Regions from separate parts of the Homo sapiens genome. Here region 2 is linked to region 1. Evidence: promoter capture Hi-C in 16 types of primary human blood cells and fetal thymus (Javierre and others, 2016). All regions are on one chromosome and are shown on one strand. The core of a region is centred on a gene start or on the middle of the fragment in contact, and the rest is flanking DNA. Distances in the headings are between cores, read along the strand shown. Region 1 holds the start of SH3RF3 (SH3 domain containing ring finger 3). Region 2 holds the start of SULT1C2 (sulfotransferase family 1C member 2).

Evidence for each region. Contacts are between HindIII fragments. The CHiCAGO score rates a contact against its expected background, and 5 or more counts as called.
Region 2: a fragment that was not itself captured here is called in contact with the fragment with the promoter of SH3RF3 in region 1 in 4 of 17 cell types (erythroblasts, naive B cells, total B cells and 1 more); the score reaches 7.6 in erythroblasts.

Annotation. Positions count from the first base shown.
Region 1 is chr2:109,127,147-109,131,479 of GRCh38, reverse strand. SH3RF3 (SH3 domain containing ring finger 3) reads right to left here and starts at 2,275. Exons shown (of 10, transcript NM_001099289.3): 1 at 1,367-2,275. The coding sequence starts at 1,939. It overlaps SH3RF3-AS1 (SH3RF3 antisense RNA 1), which reads left to right and starts at 1,361. Exons shown (of 1, transcript NR_029193.1): 1 at 1,361-4,153. It also overlaps a transcript of RANBP2 not described here. RefSeq lists silencers at 2,260-2,459, 2,490-2,539, 2,550-2,619, 3,000-3,059. The HindIII fragment of the contact is 8,501 bases long and covers 613-4,333 here.
Region 2 is chr2:108,287,510-108,291,842 of GRCh38, reverse strand. It overlaps SULT1C2 (sulfotransferase family 1C member 2), which reads right to left and starts at 2,948. Exons shown (of 8, transcript NM_001056.4): 1 at 2,773-2,948. The HindIII fragment of the contact is 242 bases long and covers 2,963-3,204 here.

The DNA.
Region 1 (4,333 bases), core at 1,026-3,525:
GAAGGTAACCCACTTATTCTGCAAATAAAGATATTTAATTATAAATACCTTACATCAAAAACAGCAAGGCCAGGAAGGAAAAGTTTGAAAATTTCTAACGCAAGCATTTAGCTGGATTTAATCACAATTAAAACCAAAGAAAAAAATTCCCCTTCAGCAGTGCCCCCCAAGTGACCCCCAGTGACTATCCTTGACTGTCCCCATTCTTCCTGATCCATAGAAAAAAAAACCCATTGCAGCAAAGTATGGCATTTAACTCAAGCTCAACATCCAAGGGTTTAAGTTCCTAACCTTAACCTTAGAGATTTGCAGTACTGCCTAATCCAGGTGCTAGAATGTTCCCAGCATTTCAGGATTACACATAGTGGAAGGACTAGGCATCACCAACTCCTTAAATGGTCAAAAGTAGAGGAATAAAGTTGTGTTTCTAAAGCAAATGATTATTCCAATAGATAATGTATTTTTTTTAACATTTAAGTGCTTTTCTCCATTTAAAGAAATTAACAAAACCCGGGTCCTTTCTTTTCTCATTTAAACCAGCATCCCATGCCCTCTCTCCTGGTAACTGTTCACAAGGTGGCAAGGGTGTGTAATAAGAAGCTGTAAGAAGCTTTTAAAACCAAATCATTGAAGCCATCCAGAGAAGATCTTTCGTCTAAAACAGAAGCAGCGAAGGCCCTAAAATGCGGCTGTACCAAAAATAATAATAATAAATATAAATGACCCCCGTGGGAATGCAACCCTGCCTGGGAGCCCAGGAGAAGACCTTGGCTTCTGGTTAGACACTGCCAAGTCCAAAAGGGCTGGGTCAAAAGGCTCCTGGGGCCTCCAGATTAACTCCTTCCAGACTACTAGAAGCATTCCTCCAAACCCCAGTCCCACTCTGCCTTCTGCCCTCCCCTCCTTAGCCACACCGCAGGCAGGAGGCCCGCGGGCTTCCCAGAGCAGCCATCAGAGCCCTGTCAGAAACGTTAAGGGCTAACTTTTCTCTAGGCAGGCCCAGGGTGTGCAGAGGGAGTGTCTGGGGACCCAGAGGAAGAAGGTCCCCGTTTCTAGGGAGACGCAAGGGCGATGCTAAGTTTAAGAGGCAGGGTAACAAGTCCGGCCAAGGAATCGGGGGTGAGCGACGGGACAGGAAGGCGTGCCCACTCCACAGGAGGATGGGACACACGTGAACAAGCGGCGAGCTGCCCAGGGGCCGGATGCCGCCACCAAGCAAGCGAAGTTGGAGGAAGAGCAACAGCGGAGTGGGCCAACGCAGGACCACCCGTGGTCTCCTCCGCACCTCATCACTGCCCCCCACGCCCAAGCACCCACCCACACACTCCCACGTGCCGTGGCCACTTCCGCCGAGACAGATACTCACCTTTGCCGCCGGCGCGGTCCTGCTGGTCGCCAGCTCCCGCAGACTGCCGGCGGTGCTGCCCGCGGCCGCGGAGAGGAAAACCGGGGAACCCGGGGTGCTGCCTGCCGCGCCGCCCCCGCCGCCCGCGAGCGTGGGGGCCGCACTCTGGCCTGGGATGGGACGCGCGGGCGGGCTGCCGCCGGGGCTGGTGCCCGCGCGGGGCCGCTGACGGATGCCGTCCAGCAGTCGCACCAGCAAGATGTTGGCGGGCAGTTCGTCCACGCCGCAGCCCACCAGGATGCGGCACTCGGGGCAGCGCAGCTCGTGGCGCGAGCACACGATGCTCTCCAGGCAGCGGCGGCAGAAAGTGTGTTGGCATGGCAGCACCTTGGCCGTGGTGTCCAGGCGCTCCAGACACACGGAGCACTCCAGCAGGTCCAGCAGCGACGACTCGTCCATGTCCTCGCCCGCCCCCGCGGCGGTGGCCGCCGCCCGACGCCGCCGTCGCTCGCCTGGCCTGTCCTCGTCGCCCTCGCTCTGCGCAGCAGCGGCGGCCGCCTTGGATGCGCACAGCCAGGACGCTCCGAGCAGCATGGGGGAGGCGCCCGCAGCGGTCTCGCGCGGCTGCCTAGGTCCCGGGGCCGGCGTGGAGCCCGCCACCGGCAGCCAGCATCAGGACTGGGGAGCCGGGCTCCGCCGTGACTTTCTTCACCCCGGCTGGTGGCCCGATGCTAGGGCTGTGGCGGTGCGAAGTGGCTCACCGACCGGCCTGCGTGGCGGGGACCGGCCTGCGTGGCGGGGACCGGCCAGCCGAGCCCGCCCAGTCCTGAGCGCAGCGCCTGCGGCTGCGGGCTACACCTGTCCCGCCGCAAGTCCGCCCCGCGCGGGGGACCGGGGGTGCTGCCGGGCACGAAGCTCAACGGGTTCTGTGCTGCAAGCGGCGGCTCGCGCCTGGGAGACCAGCGGCAGGAAGTGCGGGCAGCGGCCGGCCAGGTCCCCGGGGAGGCCGGGGCGCGGCGTGCACGCTCCTCCGCGCAGCTGGCGAGCCGCACCGCCCCCGCGGCACCTCCATGCGCCCCTGGCCTGCTCGCTAGTCGCTGTCCTCCAGAGGATTCAGCAGGACCGTTCCTCTTCCTCGGCCGCGAGCACGTGCGCGGGGGTGCGCGCGGAGGTCACGGTCACTGCGGGGCTCAGGGAAGGAGGCGCCGTGCCTGCAGGACTTCCCTTCGCTTGGGCGCAAGCCGGCGATTAGCCTGGTCCCCTAGGACATCTCCAGGGCTCCGGGGAACCTCTCCTGCGCAGGCTTGGCCCTGCCTCCTCCAAGCGTCCGAGTCTTTTTCGGCTTTTCGTGAGCCTCAGAGAGGGACGTTTCCTGCCAACGCTGCTGCGAAGGAAAGTTTGGGCGGCGTTATCCCGACTGCCTTCCTCGCCAGCGCCGGCGAGCAGCTTGGGGACACAGCCGACGCCCGGGCATCCTCCCCGACGACCCCCCGGAGCGCTCCCAGTTCAGACTCCTTTCCGAGAAGCGCGCAGAAGTGACAGCCCCGGAGCTTCGTTCCGGTGTAGGTGTGGGGATGCGCCGCAAGGCAGGAGGGGAAGGCGCTCCAGTTGAAGGGGGCACCCCGGGGCCCGCGCCGACTCCTCCCGGCGCAGCCTTGGCTCGCCGGAGTCGCGGGTCGGAGGCTGGCGCCGCTGCCCGCCGACCAGCACCCTGGCGCCAGGCGCCCGGCTCCACGCCGCACCCTTGGCGACGCTGTGCGAGGGGCTCTAGCGCCCGCCGCGGCGCAGTCTCGTGAACCCCCGCTCCAATTTTTTCCTACGGAGGCGCAGAGGAGGGTGAATTCGCGCTCTCCTTCCCGACGCCCCGGCTTCTGGGAGCGTCAGAGCAACGGAAGTACGTACAGGAGGACCGAGAGCAGCAGGGAAGTTTGGCGGTGGGCTGGGGTCGGCGGCGAAGATTCCCTGCCGTGCGCTGCCCCCTCGTGGCCGCTTTGCGTTCCCGTCGGGAAGGGCTGGGTTCCAGTCCAGGGCCCAGCACAAACCAGGATTGGTTGGACGCTGCACAGCGAGTTCAGTCAGGGCTAACATCAGAAGAGTCGTGGGGGGCCTGCCTATCGGCCAGCCTGTCCTTGTGGTTTGTGAAGTTGTATGATCTTTCTGTTATTATTAAGGAAAAAAGTAGTATTTGTTGAGGCTAAAAGGCCAAGAGCGTGCTATATATTATTTAATCCTCTAAACAGCTCTGCCAGATAATTATTTTATTTATTTATATTTACTTCCATAGCTTTAGACAGGATCTCGTTCTGTCAGGCAGGCTAGAGCGCGGGGTGCTATCACGGCTCACTGCAGCCTCAAACTCTTGGGCTCAAGCCATCCTTTCACCTCAGCCTCCTGAATAGTTGAAACTACAGGTGCGCCACCACGCCTGGCTAAATTTTTAATTTAAATTTTTTGTAGCGACAGGGTCTCCTTATGTTGCCCAGGCTAGTCTCAAACTCCTGGGCTCAAGAGATCCTCCAACCTCATCTTCACAAAGTGCTGGGAGTACAGGCGCCAGCCACGGTGCCCAACCTGTGATAATTATTTTAAACTCATTTTACAAATGAGGAAAGTGATATTCATACTTGTAAAGCCATTGGGGCTGAATTTTCATTTTTGTATCCACAGAACTAACACATAAAGTTTACATGCCATTAGAATGTAAGCTCTCTGTAAGCTACAGATCTTTTCTACTGTAATATCCTTAGTGCCTAGGGCAGTGACTAGCATATAGTAGGTGTTCAATAAATATTTGTAGAATTAATGAAAGGATACGTCTCTCTTTCTCTCTCTCCCTCTCTCTCTCTCTCTCTCTCATCACCTACTGGTGATTTGAAGGCAGATCTTAGTATCTCAATTACACATATCCTGTGCTTATATCAGGATGCTAGTCCCTGGAAACTTTGCTTCTGATAGCAGCAGGTGGCTTTCTTAACCTGGATGTCTCTC
Region 2 (4,333 bases), core at 1,834-4,333, 840 kb after region 1:
GAGAGGAGGGATAAGAACAAACATTTCTTGCAGGCCTTCTATGTTAGGTCCTTCGTGGACTTTTCTTTTTCTTTCTTAATTCATATGACAATTTTATTAGGAAGGAATAATTATCACCCTCATAAATGTGAGGAAGCTGAGAGTCACACGATCAATAACTTGCCCAGGATCGCAGCCAACATCTGTATACGAATCCTATGTTCCTTCTTTAAAAATTGCCTCTTGTTTTTTTTTATTGTGAATTTAAAGTTATACATTGCAGAAACTTTGGAAACAGTCCAAATGTACAAGGAAAACATCTATCACACAAGAGTTGTTATTATTTTGATGTATTTCTATCTGTCTTTTTCAAATGTATATTGTTGTAGGCAGAATAATGGCCCTAAAGATGTCCACGTCCTAATTCCTAATACATTACATTGTGTGGCAAAGGGCTTTGCAGATGGAATTTAGGTTAAGAACCTTAAGGCAATGAGCATGTCCTGTATTATCCCGGTGGGTCTAATGTGACCACAAGGGCACTTAAAAGTGGACAAGGGTGTAGAAGAGCAGTCAGAGAGTCGTGTGGCAGAAGAAGTGGCTGGAGAGTTTGGAAGCATGAGAATGACTCAACTTGCCATTGATGGCTTAGAGACAAAGGGGAACACAAGACAAGGCATGACCTCCAGAAGCTGAGAATGAACCTCAGCCAACAAGCAAATGGGACCTCCATCCTACAGCCACATGAATCTGAATTCTGCCAACAACCAGAATGAGCTTGGAAGGGATTCTTCTTCAGACCCTCCAGAAGGGAACGCAGCCCTGCCAACACCTTGATTTTACCCAGAGACACCTGTTTGGACTTCTGACTTACAGAGGTGTGAGATAATAAACTTGTATTGTCTTAAGCTGCTAAATTTTTGATAATTTGTTATGGCAGTGATAGTGATAGAAAACTGTTTATACATAGTTATGAACAAAAAGTATACATATATATAAACATAAAACTACAAAACACTTTTTGGATACTGCTGTGGTTTGGATGTGGTTAGTCCCCACCAAAACTCTCTGTTGAAGTTTAACTGCCAGTGTGGCAGTGCTAGGACACGGGGTCTTGTGAGAGGTGTTTGGGCCATAAGGGTGGATTCCACATGAGTAGATTAATGCCATCTCCCAGAAGTGGGTGAGTTTGGTCCCTTTATACATGCCTGCTTGCCTTTCTATTTCTTCACCATGTCTTGATGCAGCATGGCCCTCACGAGAAGCTGAGCAGATGCCAGCACCATGCTCTTGGACTTTTCAGCCACCAGAATCATGATTCAAAATAAACCTCTTATATTTATAAATTACCCAGCCTCAGGTATTTTGTTATAGCAACATAAAATGGACTAAGACGGACATTATCGTGGTTTGAATTGTGTCTCTCTAAGTTCATATGTTGAAGTCCTAATTCATAGTATATTAGCATGTGGCTGTATTTGGAGATAATGTCTTTAAATAGGTGATTAAGTTAAAATGAGGCTGCTAGGATGAGACCTATTCCAATCTGGTATCCTTGTAATGAGAGGAGATTAGGACACACAAGGCAACACCAGGGATGTGTGCACATGGAGGAAAGACCATGTAAGGACACAGTGAGAAGGTCCTCCATAGGGTGGGGGTGAGGGGATGGTGAGTCCAATTCTGGGGTTGAGTCTGATGTATTTATGGGACTTCCCAATGTACACCTGTAGGCAGGTGTACATGTGAGCTTAGGGCTCTGGCCTTGAACTAATGCCCTGAGAATAATCCACGCAACACATTGACCAACTCTGTGGTAGGCGTTGTGCTCTGGGCAGGTAGCTGATGACCGAGGGCCTGGGCACAGCTGTGAACATGTGTGGAAGGGCACCTGCTGCTGCTGAGGACCAGGGCGGTTAAGGGCTTGGCTGTCCAGTGAACTATGGATCCCACTGTATTGCTCTTGTTGGAGGCCTGCACGGGGAGTGATAGAACCTGGCTAAAGCTGGGAGAAGGAGATGCAGCAAGAGATTGAGGCAGCTGGGTAGTGCAGTGGGAGCAGAGGGATCTGCCAGTTCCCACAGGAGAAGTCCCAAGTCCTTCTCACCCTCCCCAGGCCCCTCATTGCTGGGCCACATCAGCACATGGTTCCTGCCCTTGGAGAGTCAGGCATGTAGACACATACATTTCCCCTTGAGCAGCCAGCAGGGACATTTTCATCATATCAGGCCAGATCACTATGGCCTCCTTTGTGGAGGCATCCCTGACTCTGTAAACAGAAGTAATCACTCCTTTCCATGGGATCCTATAGTATTTTGTGTGCAAATTTTATAGGTCTTACTCCACGTCCTACAATTACTTGCTTATAAGTCTGGACCCTTGGAGCACAGGATCTGGTTCAGTCCCCTTGCAGGCCCAGCATGTGTCTTAGTCAATGGCTGGCATAAGAGGAGGGCTGTCATGGAAGAAGAAATAGTCTTGGCCAGAGAAGTTGAGCTGGCCCTGGAGGAGGATGGGACAGGGAGGGTATTTGGGAAAAGATCAGGGTGGGAGACAGAGATAGTATTACAGGAGAGAGAGCTTTTGGAGGTGATTTGAGGGGGGTCCTGAATTTCTAGGTCTGAATTTTTAGGCTGGAGGCTGTTAACAAAACTCTTTTATATTATTTTATCAGATTCTTAGGATCTTTTCTGGTTTGAATAAATGCATCTGTAAAGCCACACCTATGTGGCTAAAGGTTAAAAAATAAATTAACGAGTTAGGTACAGAATTTCTTTTAAGCCATATTCTTACCTTCAAGTTCCAGCTGAAAGTCAGCAGCTCAAAGGCCCACTCAAGGGTCAGTGGGCACGGAAAGGACTTTCACAGGAAGCAGACGGCAATTGCAGAGGCTCAAATTACTACTGTGTCAGAGTTACGGGGGCGCTCAGCAGGTAGCCAGCACTTTGGGAGGCTCTCAGCTTCAGTGTGGGAAGTTGAAGCTTTTACTGGAAGAATCCGGATTGAACAGAAACAAACCCTGTGACCTGGCCCTGGGAGGGAGAACTTCTCACTGTACCATGATCACTCATGTGACCCTGACTGCTGTGCAAATACCAACTCCCTCTAGTTCATATGAACTAAGGGCACACTCTACTCCTCCTCTCGGTCACCAGCTAGAGTTTTTCACATCTTTCCTGGCCCTCAGCTGCCTGGCCCCTCCCTCCTCCCACTGGCCTCGAAGCTTAAACAGGTGGGGGCTGGGGGGAAATGGAAGGTTGGCTCTAGGACCAGATGCATCAGGCTTCAGGTAGGCTCCTGCTTATTTGGTGAACTCCCTTTTCCTTCCTCCTTAGCCTGAGATTTAATTTCTGCATCTATGAAGTGTGGGTAATACTGCCTGTCTCCAATCCATGCTTTAAGATTGAAAGCAACAATGTTGATGAATACACTTTGCAGAGCAAATAGTAAGTGCTTAAAACTGCTGGTTCTTCTTTCCTTTCTTCCCAAGTTGTATTCATCCACACCGAAAATGCAGAGAGGATAGAACAAAAGTCTAGAGCTTAGGTGTGTACTTATTTTTTCTTTGCCTTATTGTACAAAAGGTACACTTTAGTGGAGGCAGATTATATTCCATGGTGTCTTTGGTTACCTGGGAAATTAAATGGATCAAGTGTTAATGATCTCTGAACTGCTACTCTTCTGCCAGCCCCAACCTTGTATCTACCCCAGTGCTTTCCTTTCTGGAATTGAAGCATAATTCTGCACCCCATCTGCCCTTCTTGCCAAAGCTTTCCTTGTCTTCTTTGACCCTGAACCTCCTAATGCTTCTTTGCCGACACTTCTTCTTCCTCCTTGTTTCCAAAGGGCTCTTTTTTTCCCAATAAATTGAACTTTCTTTTTCTTTCTTTTTTCTTTTTTTTTTTTTTTTTGAGATGGTGTTTCACTCCTGTTGCCCAGGCTGGAGTGCAATGGTGCAATCTTGGCTCACTGCAACCTCCGCCTCCCGGGTTCAAGCGATTCTCCTGTCTCAGCCTCCTGAGTAGCTGGGACTACAGGCGTGCGCCACCATGCCCAGCTAATTTTTTTTTGGTATTTTTAGTAGAGACGGGGTCTCACCATGTTGGCCAGGCTAGTCTCCAACTCCTGCTCCCAGGTGATCTGCCCGCCTTGACCTCCCAAAGTGCTGGGATTACAGGCATAAGCCACTGCGCCCGGCTGAACTTTATTTTTCTACTTCTGCTCTCTTTCCAGTTCCACTTATCCCAGTGCTGTCAATTTTCAGCCCCATAGGGCTGATTCACAGTTCTTAGTGCAACCTCACATTTTCTCTGCAGTTAAAGTCCCTAAGTCTACTAAAGTGTCTGCCAGTATC